Linked DNA regions of Homo sapiens: region 2 is linked to region 1. Evidence: promoter capture Hi-C in 16 types of primary human blood cells and fetal thymus (Javierre and others, 2016). All regions are on one chromosome and are shown on one strand. The core of a region is centred on a gene start or on the middle of the fragment in contact, and the rest is flanking DNA. Distances in the headings are between cores, read along the strand shown. Region 1 holds the start of TTC12 (tetratricopeptide repeat domain 12). Region 2 holds the start of PPP2R1B (protein phosphatase 2 scaffold subunit Abeta).

Evidence for each region. Contacts are between HindIII fragments. The CHiCAGO score rates a contact against its expected background, and 5 or more counts as called.
Region 2: a contact is called between the fragment with the promoter of PPP2R1B here and a fragment that was not itself captured in region 1, in 1 of 17 cell types (non-activated CD4 T cells). The highest score is 6.7, in non-activated CD4 T cells.

Annotation. Positions count from the first base shown.
Region 1 is chr11:113,313,226-113,319,337 of GRCh38, reverse strand. TTC12 (tetratricopeptide repeat domain 12) reads right to left here and starts at 4,755. Exons shown (of 22, transcript NM_017868.4): 1 at 4,720-4,755; 2 at 3,023-3,095. The coding sequence starts at 3,080. It overlaps TTC12-DT (TTC12 divergent transcript), which reads left to right and starts at 4,882. Exons shown (of 5, transcript NR_199709.1): 1 at 4,882-5,008. RefSeq lists silencers at 4,385-4,484, 4,377-4,671, 4,695-4,944. The HindIII fragment of the contact is 180 bases long and covers 3,309-3,488 here.
Region 2 is chr11:111,763,863-111,769,974 of GRCh38, reverse strand. PPP2R1B (protein phosphatase 2 scaffold subunit Abeta) reads left to right here and starts at 3,586. Exons shown (of 15, transcript NM_002716.5): 1 at 3,586-3,727; 2 at 4,591-4,681; 3 at 5,070-5,170. The coding sequence starts at 3,614. It also overlaps a transcript of ALG9 not described here. RefSeq lists enhancers at 3,521-3,570, 3,591-3,770, 3,657-4,560. The HindIII fragment of the contact is 3,920 bases long and covers 2,880-6,112 here.

The sequences.
Region 1 (6,112 bases), core at 2,149-4,648:
GGCTTCTCTAGGCTGCGACAATTTCTCACCCTTTCCTTATTTTGATGACCTTGACAGTTTTGATGACCTTGACATTCTATGAGTTTGCATAGAATACCTTGCAATTTGGGTTTATCTGGTATTTTTCTCACGGTTAGACTGGAGTTACAGGATTTGGGGAAAAAGACCATGGCACATTATGGCGTATCAGGGATGCATGCCATCAGTGTGATTTATCAGGAGGTTAACCTTGATCATCTATCTGAAATTGTGTTTGCCAACCTTTTCCACTGTAAAGTTACTTTCTTCCCTCCCTTTCCATACTGTACTCTTTGGAAGCAAGTCACTAAATGTATCTCACATTTAAGGGGTAGAGATGCTCCACCTCCTTGGGGGAAGAGTCATTACATAAATTAGATGGAATTGATTTACTGCTCTCGGTAAACACAAATTCCTTACCATGGTTTCCAAGGTCTTTCCTAATCTGGCCCCTCCATATTCAGATGGGACTCTTCTCTCCTTGATCTCTTCTTTCCAGACATTTGGGGCTTTTTATTCTTTTAGTTCCTCAAAAGCACCACACTCTTTCTTCACTCTTAGCTTTCCTACCTCCTTACTTCCCACCCAGGACACTCCCCTGTCATTTTCCCAGTGACCAACTCCGACTCACTCTTCACATTTTGCCTAAATCTCACTTCTTCTGGAAAACTTTATTTAATTTCTGTTATGGACTAAATTGCATCCCCCCCAAAAATTCACATGTTGAAGCTATAACTCCTGGTATGACTGTATTTGTAGATAGGGCCTTTAAAGAAGTAACTAATCATTGCCCTAATCCAATATGACTAGTGTCCTTGTAAGAAGAGAAACACCAAATATATGCACGTACAGAGAGATGACCATGTGAGGGCACAGCGGGAAGGTGCCCATCTGCAAGCCAAGGAGAGAGGCCTCAGAAGAAACCAAACCTGCTCACACCCTGGTCTTAGATTTCTAAACTCCAGAACTCTAAGAAAATAAAGTTTTGTCATTTAAGCCAGCCAGTCTATTTTGTTACAGCAGCCCTAGCCGACTAATACAACCTCCCAAAGCTGGGTTAGATCCCTACACTTTGTAATTCTCTGTGTCTCATATTGCATACTTGAAATTACTGTTTAATATCTGTTTTCTCCACTGGACTATTAATACCATGAAAAGAATAATTCTTTGACTGTATTCTCTAGGCCTTACCAACACTCAACACATAGCAAGAGCCCAAGAAGTAAATGTACAGAATCTATACACATGTGGCTACATAAATTTAAATTAATTGAAACAAGCCGCATTTCAAACCTGGGCTGCAGCCACAAACACACAGAACCCTAAGCACTAGACCACAGGGTGGAGTTATAAGCCATATTTCAAATGCTCAATAATCATGTGGCTAGTTGCTACCATAGTGGACAGTGAGGATTATGGAACATTTTCATCATCACAGAAAGCTCTATTGGACAGCACTGGTATACATGATACCTGAATGAACTTTGAGTATGCATAAGTTAGCCAGGTTAAAAAAAAAGATGAAGAGGCAGTGGGAATGGCAAAGATCCAGTGCAGAGTGTGAAACACAGAGTATGTGTGGCGAAGTATCAGCAGTTTATTGCTGCTCAAGCGTGAGGTAGGGAGATATGAGAGAGGTAAGGACAAGGTCATGGGAGGACTTAAGTCCTGATGAGAGCTTGGGATTTATTATGACTGCAAAAGGAATCCAAGCAGAGAAGTGTCTGGGTCAGATTTGCATTTTAGATACATTACTCTGTGGGAAGTATAAGCCTGGAGACAGGAAAAACAATCAGGGGGTTGTTGACATAGTCTGGGTGAGAAGAACCAGAACAAAGGGAGGGCTGGAGAGGATGGCTCTCCAACCAAACTAGATGGCTAATTGGATGCAGGGTTATGAGTTGGGAGGAGTCCCAGATGACCTGTAAATTTCTGGATGGTGGTGTCACCAACTGAGACCAGGATGAAGGTGAGGGTAGGAGAAGCAGGTTTTATTTGGGAGGGGGAGGGCAAAGGGGAGGGAAAGAGATGATGCCTCAATTTTGGACACATTTAAGTTTATTTGTGGGATACAGTAGGTATGACAGTACCATAGAGGCAGAGGCTCAGAAAAGAAGGCTAAGTGTCCATGTAGATGTGGGGGTCATGAACAAACAGGTGGCAGGTAAAGCTACATGTTTAGACCAGCTGAAGAGAAAGGTGGCAGTGGGCCAAGGCCAGAGCTCCATGGAACAGCATTCAGGGATAAGCATTATTCATGTATCATTTACGATGTCACCCAAGCTAGCTTTAAAACCACTTTATTCCTTGAACCCATACAATCTGCTACAAGCAGCAATTTCAGCATATTGCCTGTATTTACTATGTAAGGTCTGTTTGCTTGTTGGTTTGTTTGTTTCTATACTCAAGCAAGCTCCCTGAACAGGGACTGACAGGTTTGGAAATTCCTGAATGTGATCTGTGGGATCAGAGTACATTTCTTTGAGATCCAACCTGCCTGAACTTGGGAAAGGACTTTCTTGTCTAGAGAGAGAGAAGGGAATGATGATCATAAACCATCCATGTAATTTGATGGATCCTAAAGGAAAGCCATTTGATTTTGCCTCTGCAGCTCTAAAACAGAAATGGCTCTACTCTAAAACGGGAGGAATCTCACACTGATCAATGAGGTTCTTGACCCTTGAAGGGAACAGCTGGGTTCATTGTCAATGGGGAAACAGCAGCTGGTTTTGACTGGATTCCACATAGAAGGATACAAAATATGGAAGAAAACCGTCAGCCTGAATTCCTATCAGAATGTTAACAGTTTCTCTGATACCAATTAACAGCCAGAAAATACAGCCCTGAGGCTATAACTTGTTTCTCAATACCCTTCTCTTTAATTTCAATTACATTTTTTTCCTAAGAGTTATAAACCTGTCAAGCCACCCAGGAACTTAGAGCAATCATTTATCTACTCCACTTCTCTAAAGCAGAAATTAATTTATGATTTACTAGTACTTACAGATTTCATCCACATTTTTAAGAAATTTCTGCAAATCTTTCTCTTTATCAGCATCCATTGTGAACCGGAATCCCTAAGGGATGCAGCATAATGGTGAAATTAATAATAATAAAGCACTAAACAGAACGGTCAGGCTTATTAGCCTTCTAAAACTAAGAGCCAAGTGATTATTTTTATGACAGTTTTGTTTATGTCAATGAATAACAGCAGGGTGATCCCTTTCATTCCAACTGCTGTTTTAGGCCAAGAGGCACTCATTTACGTGCGGCAATGCTTCCAGAAAGCTTCCAGCCCTCCTTCCAGTGCAGAAAACGCTCTGCAAATAGTTCTTCCAAAGCCAACATCAACCCCGGCGATTTAGGGACCTGGCATGGAGATGAGAAGAGAGCAGATGACAGGTTGCCAAGGATAGAGAAATACACTAACACCTGACTTTGATCATGACAGGCTGGTCTAGTCAGAAGCTTAAATGTGGATGTGTGACAGGTAACAAACTTGGGGCAATTTGCATCTAAATGTCCATACTTGTTTAAAATCTGCCTTTGGCTTGTTTCTGAAGAGTGAAGAAAGGGTACAAATTGACTGAAGGGATTAGAACATAATGTTACCATGCTCACCAGCGTCTCTTCTGCTCTAGGTACCTCAGATATTATTTTACAGTTGTTTTTGTGCGAGAAGGCCCCGTGGTGTACCCAGCAGTACTCAGTGGTTCATCCACAGATCATAAAAATCATCGGGAAGATTGTTAAATATACAGCTTCCTCAGCCGTAGCCCGAGATTTCAAGTCAGTAAACCCGGGACATTGCCCAGACACGAATATAGATTTTAAACACTTTCCAGGTGATTCTCATTTATGGCCAGGTTTCATAGTAGTGTAACACGCTTCTAACACGTAATCTGCCACGAACAAACTACGAGTGATTTAATCGAGTCTCAGTGTCCTCATCTCCACCAGTTACAAGCTGTGTGATTCTGGCTAAATTCACAACCTCTCCGAGCCTCAGAGTCCTCACCCATACTATGGGAACAGTAAGAGAGAAACTACGAGGACTATTCTGGGGACTGATGTAAAGCACCAGGCACGCGACGAGTCCTCACCGTGAAGCACCCTTACCTATATAAAACAGGGGGTGGGGTTGCGGCTTAACTGAATAATCGCTAGGGTTTCTTCCAGGTCAAATCTTTTCAACTCCCACGGAACAGAGGCCTAGTCCAGTGAATTAATCTGCCCAACGGTATGAAGGTTAGAAGGCAGGCGCGCGGGTGCATGGACAGGAGACAACCTCTGTCTCCCAGGGCATGGATCTCAGGGTCCTCACTGCCTGGCCAGTGCCCCCCTACGCTAGGGTGAGAGGGCCAGAGCCAGGTGATGGCGAAGCGGCGCCGCGCTCAGTGCTTCACTCGGTAGGGCTGCGGCAGCGGGGACCTGTGCCCGAGCCCCGCGCGGAGCCTGCCCCAGACGCGCGCTGCCCGCCGGGCGCAAAGAGGCCAGGCCGCACGCACTGTTGCCCAGCAACCGCTCCCAGGCGTCCGCAAGTCCCGGGCCCTCCATGCAGGTCCCAGACCGCAGCCGTCCCAGACCGCAGCCAAGACCTTCCCATGCTCTGGGGCCCAAAGCAGCGTCCTCTGCTCGGCTCTGAAGGCCAGTGCAGGACCAGCTCCCAGGGGGGATTCCGGGGTACCCCGCGGCACCGACCTGATTCGCCCAGCTTTGGACAGGAAATGGCGCAGTGACCTGCCTGGGCTGGGGCGGGGCCAGGAGCCAGGGGCCCGGGGCGGGACCAAGGGCGGGGCCAGGAGCCAGGGCCCGGGGCGGGACCAAGGACGGGGTCAAAAGCCAGGAGGCGGGACAGGGGGCGGGCATGGACACGCGATCAGATTCGCTACCGCAGAGCTCTAGCTCCGGAGCGCGCCAAGTTGAAGGCCAAAGTCGAGGTTGGGATGCCCGATGCCTGGCGCGGGGAGACGGAGGAAGCAAAGTGCTGGTAACTAAAGCAGCGCCTGCTGCTCGCCTTTTTTCTACTGAAGAAGGGTTGTCTCACTCCCGTTAGCTTAATATCCTTGCCCAAAATGTAAAGTCTCCAGTGTACTTGTGAATCCGGTTTTGTTCATTGATAAATGTGTGAGTTAGAAGACTCACACATTTATCCTTAGGAAAGTTATTTGAGTAACCTTTTTAATCCTCAGTTTTCTCACCTGTGAAATGGAGAAATGGCACTTTCTCATAAGGTTTATGGTTAAAGTGCTGTAACCGCCCAATAGGTTCACCTTGCTCACTGCCTAAACAGAGTCGATTTATCAAGACAGGGGAATTGCAATAGAGAAAGAGTAATTCACACAAAGCTGGCTGTGAGGGAGACCGGAGTTTTATTATTACTCAAATCAGTCTCCCTAGCTTTCAGGGATCAGAGTTTTTAAGGATAATTTGGTGGGTAGGGGTCAGTGAGTCGGGAGTGCTGATTGGTAGGCTAGGAGATGAACTCACAGGGAGTCAAAGCTGTCCTCTTGTGCTGAGTCAGTTGCCAGGTGGGGGTCATAAGACCAGATGAGCCAGTTTATTCATCTGGGTGGTGCCAGCTGATCCATCGAGTGCAGTGTCTGTGAAATATCTTAAGCACTGATCTTAGGTTTTACAATAGTTGATGTTATCCCCAGGAGCAATTTGAGGTTTAGAATCTTGCAGCCTCTAGCTGCATGACTCCTAAACCATAATTTCTAATTTTGTGGCTAATTTGTTAGTCCTGAAAAGGCAGTCTAGTTCCTGGGCAAGAAGGGGGTTTGTTTGGGAAAGGGCTGGTATTGTCTTTGTTTCAAAGCTACACTATAAACTAAGTTCCCCCCAAAGTTAGTTTGGCCTATGCCTAGGAATGAACAAAGACAGCTTGGAGATGAGAAGCAAGATGGAGTCGGTTAGGTCAGATCCCTTTCACCATCTCAGTTATAATTTTGCAATGGTGGTTTCAGTGCCTGGTACCTAGTCAGTAGGAACAGGTGGCACGTGACATCCGGGGAATCATAGGGTTTAGAACAGAATGAGCTAATAGGCACATTCATTCATGCCCCAAATACATGCACACAGCCCTAAAGAA
Region 2 (6,112 bases), core at 2,337-4,836, 1.5 Mb after region 1:
GGATTGAGGCACTGGGAGAGGTAGGTCATGATGAGTCAGAGACAGAGATGGGAACTGAAGTCCAAAATTGATGACTCTCAAACCAGGCAATTTTCTGGGGCCTATTTTCTCAGCTTGTGATTTTATATTTAATCATAGTTATTCCTTGAATCGCCAGTTCATTGTACTTGGGTAAGCAAAGCATATTTGTATTTTAAACAAAGTAGTTTAGCATCAAGGTGCCAGTTTTTGTTAGCATATTAAGGCTCTCTTAAGCTTGAGTTAATATCGAAAACAGTACTGTGGAACTGACTTAATCTGCTTCTCTCTGTGCATGCTTCCTTTATTATTTCTGAAGACTTTAATTTTTTTTTTTTTTGAGACAGGGTCTCACTCTGTCACCTAGGCTGGAGTGCAGTGGCAGTCACAGCTCACTGCAGCCTCAACCTCCCAGGCTCAAGTGATCCTCCCACCTCAGCCTCCTGAGTAGCTGAAACTAGGCGTGCACTACAGGCCCAGCTAATTTTTGTGTTTTATTTGTAGGAATGGGGATCTCACTATGTTGCTAGGACTGGTCTTGAACTCCTGGACTTAAGCAATCCTCCTATCTCGGCCTCCCAAAGTGCTGGGATTACAGGTGTGAGCCACTGCACCTGTCCAAGACTCTTTTTTTTTTTTTTTTTTTGAGACAGGGTCTTGCTTTCTCACCCAGGGTGGAGCGCAGTGGTGTGACCTCAGCTCACTGCAGCCTCAACCTCATGTGCTCAAGTGATCCTCCCACCTCAGCCTCCTGAGTAGCTGGGACTATAGGTGCACACCACCACGTCCTGCTAAGTTTTTTTTTTTTTTTTTTTAGAGATGGGGTTTTGCTATGCTGCCCATGGCTGGTCTTGAACCCGTGAGCTCAAGTGATCCATCATGTGCACCACTGCCCCAGGTGACTTTTTACATAAAGTATAAGAAAACAGATTCCTCCTCTCAATGCCTACAGGAATCCCCTCTGATCTTCTAACTGGTAAAGTACTAAGTTAAAAAAACCTCTTAGCCCTCTGTCTCTCCAAGTTGGGTAGTATTAAATATATGAATCCATTTTTAGCCTGGGCAGCATGGTGAGACTCTGTCTCCATACACACACACACACACACACACACACGCACACACACACACGAAGCTGGATGTGGTGGCACATGCCTATAGTCCTAGCTACTCAGGAGGCTGAGGCTGGAGGATTGCTTGAGTCCAGGAGTTTAAGGTTACAGTGAGCTATGATTGTGCCACTGCACTCCAGCCTGGGAAACGCAGCAAGACCCTGTTTGTTAAACACACACACACACACACACAACACAATAATTTTTTAAAATCCTGAAAACTCTCAGTTAAGTCATTATTATTATTATTTTAGAGATGGGGGTCTTGCTGTGTTGTCTAGGATGGTCATGAACCCCTAGGCTCAAGTGATCCTCCCACCTCAGCCTCCCAAGTAACTGGGAAGACAGGCACGCGTTACCATGTTTAGCTAAATTGTTTTTATTATGCTGTGGTTATTTAAATTTACGAATATAAAGTAGGAAAAATGTGCTTTTATTTCTAGTTCTTACACAGCTAAAAAAAAACCACAACAAATTTACAAATTAAATACAAATGAAACCACAAAATGAATACTATTCAATTAAAAATATTATAGTAATTTAACGTGACAAATGATGTATTTTGCTAAAACTGTCATCCGTCGTATTGTTACTATGGTGTTGCCTGCTATAGCTCAGCTTCTTTTGTGTTCAACATGCCTATGCCACCAAGTGACTCCTGATATCTTAATTTTCTCACCATTTTTCTGTTACAACTACCAAATAGTGCAATCTCATGATGCATTTGGCTTTCATTTTGTGCATGAAAGTATCATTGTCATTTTAAAACCACCTCTGTTCTTTTCTCATTATCCCAGAACAATAAAAGCAGCACTAAAACACACATGTAAATGTGGGTGCTGAAATTGTGTGGCAATACTTGGTTGTAAGGTGGTCACCCAAATAATTCAGAATATGCTTATACAAATCTAAAAAATATGAAAATGAAAATAAAATTAAAACCCTAGAGAATACATTCGCAGACATAATTTGAGAAAAACTGTTCAGGTCTGCTGGTTCCCAAACTTTCATTACTATCAAAGGCTCTAGCTATTGTGCTTACTTCCAAGAACCCCATTTATTTATTTATTTATTTATTTATTTATTTATTTATTTATTCATTATTTCATTCATTCATTCAAAGGCTCTATTGTGCTTACTTCCAAGAACGCTATTTATTTATTTATTTATTTTAGAGACGGGGTCTCACTCTGCCGCCCAGATTGGAGTACAGTGGTGCGATCCTGGCTCACTGCAACCTCTGCCTCCCGGGCTCAAGCGATTCTCATGTCAGCCTCCCGAGTAGCTGGGACTACAGGCTCCCGTCACCAGCCCAGCTAATTTTTGTATTTTTTAGTGGAGACAGGGTTTCACCAAGTTGGCCAGGCTGGTCTCGAACTCCTGGCCTCAAGTGATCCGCCCGCCTCGGCCTCAGAATCCCATGTTTTAAAAAAGTTTGTCTCCTACACTGCATTTATAGTTTTATTAATCAGGCACATAGAATTACCATTTCGGAGCTTGTGATCACCATATGTAGTTATCACTCCAAGCTGCTTAAATTCCAGTCTAAAACAAACAAAACATTCTAATTATTCTGTGCTACCCTGACAGGGGTAAGTGAAAACTTTCCATTCAGGTTTGTAAGAACGAGCTCCCAGACCTCCACCTCTTCCCCTTGCTGCCTCTGAGGACTCTTGGAGGTCTAGGGAGGCCAGTTTGGGTTTTCTTGCTCAAGAAAGTAGCCACCCCACCCAATTTGGAAGGATTAAAGCTTGTCCTAGTTTTGCTTCATTGTTGTACTTCTAGCATGCTAAAGAGCTAAAAAATGGGAGGAAGAAAATACAACAGAAGGCACCATTCCAGTACCAAACTGAAAAGAAACACAAAAACAAGAGAGCAGCATGTTTTTAACAGCTTGCGTGGAAAAAATATTGACTGGGGAGTTTGGACAGCACTGTTCATTTTCTCTCACCGCCCGCGTTATTTGTCTTACGGAGCAGGAGCCAGATACCATTCTGGAGAAAGAGCCGCGGGAAGAGGTGGAGGGGTTCTGTGGAAGTTTGAGTCTGAGCGGAGAAATTAGGGCTGGAGATCCAGTGGCTCAGGGCCAGGAAGAAGTCAGGGGAGGTGCTAAAGCCTTTTTCCTCCTGGCCTCGGGCACTCTCTTTGGTCCGCCTGAGTCTTAAGAGGGCACAGCGCAGATCATTCAGGTAGGTTCCTGGCTCCTTCAGACTACAACGAGCTGGATGAATCCCTGTCCCTGTTTCTTTCGGCTGGGGAAAGGACGCAGGGGTTCCATTCGCTTTCTTAGCCCACCCGTCTTCTTGAGTTCAGACCTACAACTCCTGCAGTGGGGGTCAGAAGGGAGCCTTAATCATCGGGACAGAAACGCGGCTCCCCAACTTCGGCTAAACCAGCGTGGCGGCCTTCGTCCCTACTGCCTGGGCGCGGGGCGGGGCCTGGGCGCGGGGCGGGAGGCGGTGACCAGCAGCAGGAGGAGAAAGAACATGGCGGGCGCATCAGAGCTCGGGACCGGCCCAGGAGCAGCGGGTGGAGATGGAGATGATTCGCTATACCCGATCGCGGTTTTAATCGACGAGCTCCGCAATGAAGACGTGCAGGTACTGGACTGAGGCCGGGGACCCGAGGCGAGACCGGCTGGTCGCGTGGTAGAGAAGGGGGAAGGCCTGCGTCGCGGTGGGGGTGGCCGAGGTACTGAATGAGTCGGACTCGTAGCAGAAACTTGAAGGGGAGGCGGGGAATGCTCCGCGAGGGGCTGTGGTGACACGCCCCGACCCTCCCGGGTACCTCTCTAGTAACCTTGCTTCGGACCCCCTGAGGCGTCCGCCCGGAGCCTTGCCCTTCCCGGGCGGTTGTCGGGGAACCCGCTTCCCGCCTGGGCGCCCCATCCGGGCCGTGAGGTGGCCGCGTCTCTTGGGCGAGGGAGCAGGAGAAGCGCGGTGCCAGGCCGAGACGGGGCTGGAGCGGCTGAGGGGCGCAGGATGCCCAGAAGCCCTTTGAAGTGCCCCTGGATCCCTTCATCTCGGCTTGGAACTGGCTCGGCTTGTTGGGTAGAAAGCGGGGGTGGGATGGCCGATTAATCTGGACGAGTAGTGTATCCGCTCTGTGGGAACTTTTCTTTGAAACCACAGGTGTTGTATTCAACCGTTTCACCTGCTTCACCACTGCCAAAGTGCTCTCTTTTTAAAATTATCTTACTTCCTAGGTGTTGTATTGTCTTTCCTTCATTTCTCTTCCGGTCCCTTCTGAGTGTTTCTCCTGGGAAATCCTCCGCCGGCTAGTGAGGCCGAGTTACACTTCTTTTTGGAAGTCCTTATGAGCTTCCTTAACAGTAAAATCTAAATGAAAGGTTATCTTCATTCTTACCCCTGTGTCATAATTTCACCTGTTAGCACCTTTTGTCTTTTGATCTAAATTCAGCCGTTTCTTTACATTGTTCTTCTTTCTACTTTCTTTTCTGAAGCTCCGACTCAACAGTATTAAGAAGTTATCAACAATTGCCCTAGCACTTGGAGTAGAAAGGACCCGAAGTGAATTGTTGCCATTTCTTACAGGTATGTGAATCTTTGTTTAAAGAAAGGTAGGGACATTCCATTTTCCAGTAGCTTTCAACACTGACTTTTTTAGAGTTTATTACCCACATTAAAATGAGCCAGGTGTTTTTTGTGCAAAAGAAACAGAACAGAGTATATTGTTAGTTGTGGCTAGATATATTCAAACATCAACCATTTAGCTATTGAAAGTAATTGATACGGGAGTATGAATTTCTAATTCGTTGTGCAAAGCAGATACAGGAAGACGGTTGAGAAGAAAGAAAATGCTGTTAGGATTTTGACTGGGTCACCTTCCTGGTCGCATAGTGAATCTGTTCCTAGTTTTGTGTCAGTGTCCAGCTGTGGGAGAGCTATCCATGTTGATGAGTCCTGTTGTTGTCACTTCCAGATACAATTTATGATGAAGATGAGGTACTATTAGCTCTTGCTGAGCAGCTGGGAAATTTCACTGGCCTAGTGGGAGGTCCTGACTTTGCCCACTGTCTGCTGGTGAGTATTTATAAGCTGCCTACCCTCCTTCTACAACTTTTGCAGTATAAATGATACATTGTTTGGTGATAGACACACTGCAGCATTTTTTATGCAGATCTTTTTATGGGCAGATAGTCATAATGTTAGTCATTGAGAGAATAAGTACTGTAGGCACTTTGCACTCAACTCCTTTTTTTTTTTTCTGTAAATAAGAGAACTTCGTCCTCCTTTTCTGCGTCTGTAGACTTATTAGTTTAGATGTAGGGAGAAAAAGGGTTTGATTGTTTTTATGGTTCCCCCGCGCGATGGTGGAAGTTTTAATTCTCACCTAGCAGCATTTTGTCTTTGTCAGTTTAACTTTTGCTTCTGACTTTGTGAGTTTGATGAATTTAGTTCAATTTAATTGACATTTATTGAGAGTCTACTTTATCAGACACATCATAGTTTACAATGTTAATGTTGAAGAAGACCAATGTGAGGGGGCTTGGTGGCACAAGCCTGTAGTACCAGCTACTCAGGAGGCTGAGACTGGAGGATCACTTGAGCCCAGGAGTTTGAATCCAGCCTGGGCAACATAGTGAGACCCCCATCTCTTAAAAAAAAAAAAAGACCACCAAAATGAATCTAATGAGGTCACTGCCTTTATGTGTCAGCAAATAATTACCGTGCAGTCGTAAATGGAAAGATATAAGTACCCACAAAATACCCACGTAATAGAAGGGAGAAAGGGATTCACTCCGGGTGATCAGGGAAGACCTTGGGAGATGATGTCTGAACTAGGTTTTAAAGGATGACCAGGAATTCAACAGTTGGACAAGGTAGGGGTGTATGTGTCAGAGCTTTGAATACTGGGTATGTAATACTGATTCTTGTGATTTCTGTCTCTAGTTCTGACTTTTCCATGGAACTCCTGAGGTAGATTGATTAATAGATAAGTATGAATATATATATATAGAGAGA